Linked DNA regions of Homo sapiens: region 2 is linked to region 1. The links are contacts of gene promoters, found by promoter capture Hi-C in blood cells and fetal thymus (Javierre and others, 2016). All regions are on one chromosome and are shown on one strand. The core of a region is centred on a gene start or on the middle of the fragment in contact, and the rest is flanking DNA. Distances in the headings are between cores, read along the strand shown.

What was found. Contacts are between HindIII fragments. The CHiCAGO score rates a contact against its expected background, and 5 or more counts as called.
Region 2: a fragment that was not itself captured here is called in contact with the fragment with the promoter of TMEM163 in region 1 in 1 of 17 cell types (neutrophils); the score reaches 6.4 in neutrophils.

The regions. Positions count from the first base shown.
Region 1 is chr2:134,717,351-134,720,767 of GRCh38, forward strand. TMEM163 (transmembrane protein 163) reads right to left here and starts at 1,650. Exons shown (of 8, transcript NM_030923.5): 1 at 1,384-1,650. The coding sequence starts at 1,585. It overlaps LOC105373629 (a long non-coding RNA gene), which reads left to right and starts at 762. Exons shown (of 2, transcript XR_923354.4): 1 at 762-1,217. RefSeq lists a silencer at 1,734-1,973. The HindIII fragment of the contact is 5,110 bases long and covers 1-3,417 here.
Region 2 is chr2:134,012,161-134,015,996 of GRCh38, forward strand. The region is part of intron 3 of LOC105373628 (a long non-coding RNA gene); the gene reads right to left. Among named protein-coding and RNA genes, the nearest start is that of MIR3679, 110 kb to the right of the region's middle. The HindIII fragment of the contact is 6,628 bases long and covers 1-3,836 here.

The DNA of each region.
Region 1 (3,417 bases), core at 400-2,899:
CTCTTAAATGGCATCTAGTTATGTGAGAACAGGGGGAGAAACTGCAACAGAGGTGCAGAATTCGTTGCCACTGGAGCAGCTCCAGTTCTCGCTGAGCATCTAGGCGGATTCTCTGGGAACTGCCGTTTCCATGTCATTTTATTTCACATGCTACAGTTTAGAATTTCTAAGGAGAAAGAGATCGTGCATCCGAACACTAAACCGGAATAAAAATGTACAGGAGATACTAAGAATAGGACAGAAACCTGCTAAGTCTAAAATATATAAACCCGCCATAGCCAACAAAATAAGGCTTCCAAGAAAAGGGGGTGGAGGTGCAAAAGAGCCGGCTTCCCCTAAAGGGCCTGGCTGCAAGAATCCCTCTTTGGCCACTAAACGGTTTTAGCAGAACCACAGATTCGTTCTGAGGGGGACAATTTGGATTCGGATTCAGCAAGAAGTAGAAAAGGTGCAGACGCGGCCAAGAACAGGGCTCCCTCTGCAAAGAATCCAAGCCCAAAGGAAACGCGGAAGGGATGGAGAAGAGAGACGCGGGAACGAGCAGGGAGTCTCTCCCGTCCTACACTGGCGACTCAAGGGGGCATCGGCAGTCGGTGGGAGGCAGAGTGTGGTCTCCCAGCAGAGGCAAGTGTGCTGACCTCCAGGCCAGTGTCAGTGGAGGGGAGCTCTGAAGGGTCTGCAGACGCGCCCTCCGGAAACATCAGGTTTCAGTGGCATCCATCCAGATGAGGTTGGTGGCCCAAATCCAAATGTCCCATTCCTCTGCCCCATCATGAGACGACGGGGCAGGGACCCACTGTGACCCGCGTCCGCGATTAGAATCGGGGACTGCCCGAGACCAGAGGCCGCCCGAGTCCCGGCTCGCTCCCCTCCTTGCGCCCTTCGCCGGGGCGGGCAGCCGGGCGGCCGCCGAGGGACATCTCGCGGCTACACCCGCAGAGGGAAGTTCTCCCAGGCAGCCGGCGGAGCCGCAGGGGACTACGGAAAGGAGGATGCAACGAGCCTGGGTCCCTCCGAGCTGAGTAGGGCCCGGAGTGGCCCAGAAGCGCTCGACTCCGAACGCAAAAAATGCCTCCCGCAAACTTTTCCCGTGGGCGCCGGAGGGCCTGGAGCTGGCGGAGAGGAGGGCGCGAGTCCAGGCGGGGTCGGCCTGAAGGCAGCTGGGGTCTGGGCTTCGAGGGAAGGAACCGCAGCCGAGGCGGTGCCGGCCGCAGAAGGTGGGGCTGCCGCTCTCGGCTAGCGGCGTTCTCGCCGGGAAGTCGGGGCTCCGCGCCCCCGCGCGCTCCGAGCCCCGCGCCTCGCCCAGCGCGGCCCGCGAGTGGGGAGAGGCGGGCCCCGAGCAGCCACCCCGGTCGCCGGCCGGGTCGGGCAGCTCGCGCTCACCTCGGTCCTCCAGCCCGTCGCTGAACTGGCCGCTCTCGCTGATCCGCACCTGCCGCTCCTCCTCCAGCTGGGGCGGCTCGCGCACCGGGGAGCTCAGCGGGGCCGGGCCGGGGGCGGCAGCCGGTGGCGCGTGGCCCCGGGGCGGCGGCGGGACGGTGGGCCCCTGGGAGCTGCGGCGCTGGATGCCCGCGGCCGGCTCCATGGCGCGGGGCTGCGGATCCCGGCGGCGGCGACGACAAGCGCGGCGGGGACTCGAGTCAGAAGTGCGAGGCGCCGCGGCTCTGGCGGGGGCAGGAGCGGACGGACTGGCCGCGTGGACAGGGAGGGAGGGCGGGCGGGCGCCGCGGAGTGGAGGTGCACGGGCGGGGGCGGGGACGAGCGGAGAGCCGCTCGGCTCCGCGGCCGGTGGCGGAGGCTGGGGCCGCGTTGTTGCCGCCGCGCTCCGCCCCTGGGGGCAGGTGCGGGCGGCAGGGACCCGCCCCAAGGCCCGGGCGCGGGAGCCGGCGCACCGAGGCGGACGAGAGGGAGGAACCAGCGTGAGGACCCACAGGCGGCCCTGGCAGAGCTTGGCTAGGGCGTAGCGGGGACCCGCCCCACCTGCGCCGCGGGATGGTGCCCAGAGGGGACCCCTCCCACTGGATTCCTCTGGGGTCCGCGAAGCCCGCGGCCGCGCGTGGGTAGCAGACAGCGCCCCTAATTTGGCATCTTTCTCTTCTGGAGCTGCACAGGCTTCAGAGGCTGTACAGGGTCTTCGCCTGGGCCTCCATTCTCACTGCTCATCCAGGGAAAAAGGGTTCATCTGTCCCCAAGCCCGTCGCTCTCCGTCCTTCTCGGAGCTTTAACTCCCCTCCCAGTTTCTCCCTGGAGCACCCATTTAGCCAGGGATGGGGTATCTTTAGGACAGCGGGCGCTATAGAAGATGCTTGAACTCCGAGGCTTCCCCATTTCGACTCTTCCTGGGCCTTTGTCCCATACAGTTCGCTCCCCTGCTCATCTAAGTCTTGTGTGATCTTCAGAAATCCATGGAAGCCTCCCTTCTACGAGAAGTCTCCCCTACTCTGACCCCTGCAGCTCTTAATTCATTTTGTGCGGTGGGGCTGATCTCACCAGTGAGAGTCCACCGCAGGGCACACGCCAGCTCTCTTGATGCCCAGAGAGGAGCAAAAGAGGACCTGCTGTTTAATAAATTCAGCTTGGATTTGTTGAGGCTCAGAAAAGTATACCCCAACGTATGGCACTTTGGTATGCTAAGTTTGAACTAAAAAACTAAACAGGCCTCTGAAGCCGCCTTAGAAACAAAGTCTGTCTCCCCCCCGACTTTCTCCCCACTAAGCAGTTCACAGAAACCAGAATTCCTCTTCCCTACGGTGGTCATACAACCTAGAAATAGTACTCCAACCTCCCTGGTCCTCTGCCTTTCTGTGTAGGAGCTGGCCATGAAGAAATACTCAGACCTACCTTGTCTGATAGTAGATCCTGAGACCCTCATTCCAGAAGAGGTCCTGCTCTATACATGCTGCACAGAGAGGCCAAGAAGAATCTGAACAGGCCTCGCTGGGTTCAACCCTCAGTCTATTACCATTAGATCACACCCTTTGTCCAATCACATTTCTATAAGGCTGTCCATTCTTCACTGAATCTAAGCATAAAAACAGGCAGTTTTCCCTGAGTCTTTGCATCTTCATTTCTGAAGGCTCCTGTATCACATAAAACTTTGATTCAATAAATTTGTTACGCTTTTCTCTTATTAGCCTATCTTTTGTTATAAGCATGTTTGCCGTGCCCCTTATGATGGGGAGGAAAGTATCACACCTTTTCTGCCCCTACCGTTTCAATGGTATCAACATCCAAGCTCTAGAGTCCGGCTTTCGTCTTTAGATTGATTCAGTCTCTGAATTTAATCCGGGTACTCCAAAATGTCAATTCCTCATTTAAAGGAGTCCTCCTCGTTTCTTGAAGAGTCACCCTTTTCCTTTTTCTTGTCTGCTTTGCTTGTGATTGAAATGAGAGTAGGATTTAAATGCCTTTGTGGTG
Region 2 (3,836 bases), core at 1,236-3,735, 700 kb before region 1:
GGCATTGAGAGTTGGCAGGAGACCAGGCCCCCCAAGAGAATCCGCTCCCATGGAAGCATTGCCTTTCAGTGTAATACTTGCTAGAGACTTAACATGGAGAAGGAGGAAATTTATATTATCCCTACAGCAGAAGTTATCTAGGGTCTATGACCTTGGTTGGACAAAAATACTGAAGTTAAGCACTTCCTTCTGATATTAAAGTAGGCAACTATGTAAGCTGTAGCTGTGGCTTTCTCAGCAACAGAAACCACAGATTTTTTTTTAATATCATATTACAGTTGTTGTATCTGGAAATATGTTATCTATGCTCACCACTACTTCAAACTATATGGTGGCCATTAGACCCACTTCTAGATCTTTTTATGTAAAGTGTTAATAACAAAGTGCATATGTTGTTCTATCTCAAATTTGTTTCTTTTTATATTTTGATAACTGTATTTCAATGTCATGTTTGCTTTGTAAACCTATGTATTTTATTTTCTGCATGGAAAGGGATCTGTATGTTTACCAGGCTGCCAAAGGGCGACATGGCACATAAAAAGTTAAGATTGAGGCGGGCAGATCATCTGAGGTCAAGAGTTGGGAGACCAGCCTGGCCAACATGGTGAAACCTCGTCTCTACTAAAAATACAAAAAAAAATTAACAGTGTGGTGGCACATGCCTGTAGTCCCAGCCACTCAGGGAGGCTGAGGCAGGAGAATCACTTGAATCCAAGAGGTGGAGGTTGCAGTGAGCCAAGATCACGCCACTGCACTCCAGCCTGGGCGACAGGGAGACTGCATGTCAAAAAAAAAAAAAAAAAAAAGATTAAGAGCCCTCACCCCAGAATAGTAAATATATTCTCCCAAGGCGTTCGGTTGTTTTTGTTTCCTAATCTGTATCCTGATCCTCACTGGTTCTTCTCTCTTCACTCCCAGATTCTCATATACACCCCTCTTTTCTCACCCCTTTCCACTATACAGAGCAATTCACCTCAGCTACCTGGTCAGGGCAAAATGAGGGTCTCTTCTGTCACACAGCTCATCTTCCTTTGAAGGTGGTTTGCAGATTATGTTTTTTCCCTTGAAGACCTTGGGGTCTTAGCCACTCTATCATGGGCTTATTAAACTTCTCAAGAATAATTTTGATGAATTGTTATAGAAAAGCCTGGTGTCTGTTGTAAGACCTCAGACACAAGGCTTTGAGGAAGACTTTGTTATTAACTAAAAAGCCTCATACAGGAAGGAACAAAGCAAGCACATGCAATGCAGAATCTCTACTACTTGTACACCCAGTTCCTTGACTGGCCTTTCTAGACACATGATTTAAATCTAGAAATACAACAGTGGATTGATTCTTTTAGGTACACTGAATTAAGAAGCAAGCTGAGCATAGCAAAATATTATAATATGGCAAGACGTTCTGTGATGTTCTCTTAAAATAGAGCCTAGGTTAGTAATTTCTAAAGAGCTGTTTGTAAAGCCCACTTATAAGTGACTTTTGAAAAGGGTCACACTATTTGTTCAAGCCAAGTAAAAGATGATTCTTACTTGTTTTCCAAGTTCTGAATCAACAGTATCTGTGACATGCAGCTTTTTTGTTGGGGGATGAGGAGGGCAGGCAGATTTCTTCTATAGAATGTTATCTCTCCATCTTAGCACACCAAGTTTACAGTGCTCTCTTTGAATAACACAGGGAAAAGTCATATAGTAATCATCTATCAGGTCAAGGACATTCAGTATGAGAGGAAGCATTTTTTCCTGGCAAGTGATAACAAGCTACAAGAGCAAGCAAAGATCATTAAGAAATATACAGGACATACTAAAACCCAATGGCCTCCCAGTCCACAATATGAGGCCTGAGATATCTGGCCTGCATCTCTGTGCAGTTCTTTAGGACTTCCTTACAGTCTGCACTACATCTATAGTAGATGCCAAAAGTGATACCTCTTGATTTTGCCCTCATACTTAAAAGATATTTTCACTGTGTACAGAATTATAATTTGGCAGCTGTTTTCTTCCACCACATTGAGGAGATGTTTTTTTGCCCTCCATGTTTGCTGTTGAGAAGTCAGCTGTCAGTCTACCTGCATCTCCTTTGATAGTGATCTGTCTTTGCTCTTGGTCTGCTTTTAAGTAGTTTCTTTGTCATTAGTTTTCTGTAGATGTGAGTTTCTTTCCTTTCTTTTTAATCTTGAGATGATTTGTTGTATTTCTTGAATCAGTCGATTGGTATCTTTCATCAGTTGGGCAATAGTCTCAAGAATTACCTTCTACAACATTGCCTCCATCACATTCTCCATCTCCTCTATTTCTGGAAGTCCAGTTACATGTGTGTTAGACCTTATCATTCTATCCTCCATGTATCTTAATTATTTTTTCATATTTACCATCTCCCTGTCTCTTTATGCTGCCTTCTGTACTTTTTTTCTCACTGAGATTTTGGCCTGAAAATTATTCATTCCTGTGTTGGCTCCTCAGTGCTTTTAAGAATATTTTTAAATTATATTTTGTGTAACATTTCTGGTGGTTTTCATTGGTATGATTGTTTTAAATATTTAGTCAAGCACATTCCAAGAAACTGATGTCTATGGTTGAAATTTGATGAGTAAAGCCACTTACATGTTGAAAAATTTTCCACTAAAATGGGAACTTTGGCCTATAAAATTTTTGGAGTTCTTAAATATGTAAATATCTTTTCGATCTAAGACTAAAGACCTTAGAATTTTATAAACTGTTGCATTCTTTTATACTTCCAACTACTTTACTACTGTTACTGACATTTACCATTACATCCAGTTGAGCTTCGAACATTTTCTACAGCTTTGTCTGACTTAAAGTCACAATCTATGATATCATCCTACCAATGGAAAGTAAACTAATGTCTTTATGTGTGCCTGTATGTATTTATACTAGATTATTTAGTAATAGTTTATATTAACTTATATCAAAAATCTTATTCCTAGAAAAAATAATTGCCGTATTTCCTTTAATTGACAATAAATAAATTTCAAAATAGCAGTACCAATATTAATACAAACAGTGATCCTACTCAGTGAAGCTCAATAGAGTAATTGCTTCTTTTTTACCCTTAGAACACATCTCAGTAAGAATGGCAGTCCCGTTAATTTGTATTCTGGTGTATTCCCAGAACTCTTTGTATTCGTGCCCAATAATAGTTGTCAATAAATATTGTTGAATGAATGAATTTTAAAGTCACTCATTATCCCACATTCTTTGTTGCTTTTTAAAATACTTATCTGAAGTTTTCTATAGTCTCATTATTTCCCTTTATTTTTCAACAAAGGTGTTGACATTCTGACAGATGGTAGTTCTAAGTTTTCAAAAGAGAGTAGCTTTGACTACTATTGATAGTATTTTCTCAGTAGCAATATTCAGCTAGTACAGTAGAGTAGAAATTAGTCCTGTCCCACCACTTTAAGAGATATGTGGAAAGTCATTTATAAGAGTTTAGGCACCTCTGGGCCATCCACAATTAGTAAATGCAGGGTCATATCTGAAGAGTCATAAACATAAGATCCTGATATGCAAACCAATTGTGCATTCTACTGTTCAATTTCTAGTCATATTAGACATTGAATATTCAGTTAAAATTTGACTTTATGGAATTCTGATCTGATATTAGAATTTTTATATTATCTGTATACCTTTTCTGAACTAATTTTCCTCTTTTTGTAAAGAGCAATAAATATTCTCTTACCTAAAAAATTATATAAAATATTATTATCCTAAAGTTTATAGTTCATAAATCAAAATCATTCTTCTAATTTGTGTTATTTTGGATCAGCACCAGTTAAAGTCTTTAATTTTCCTTTTGCTCATTTTACAGAGAATCG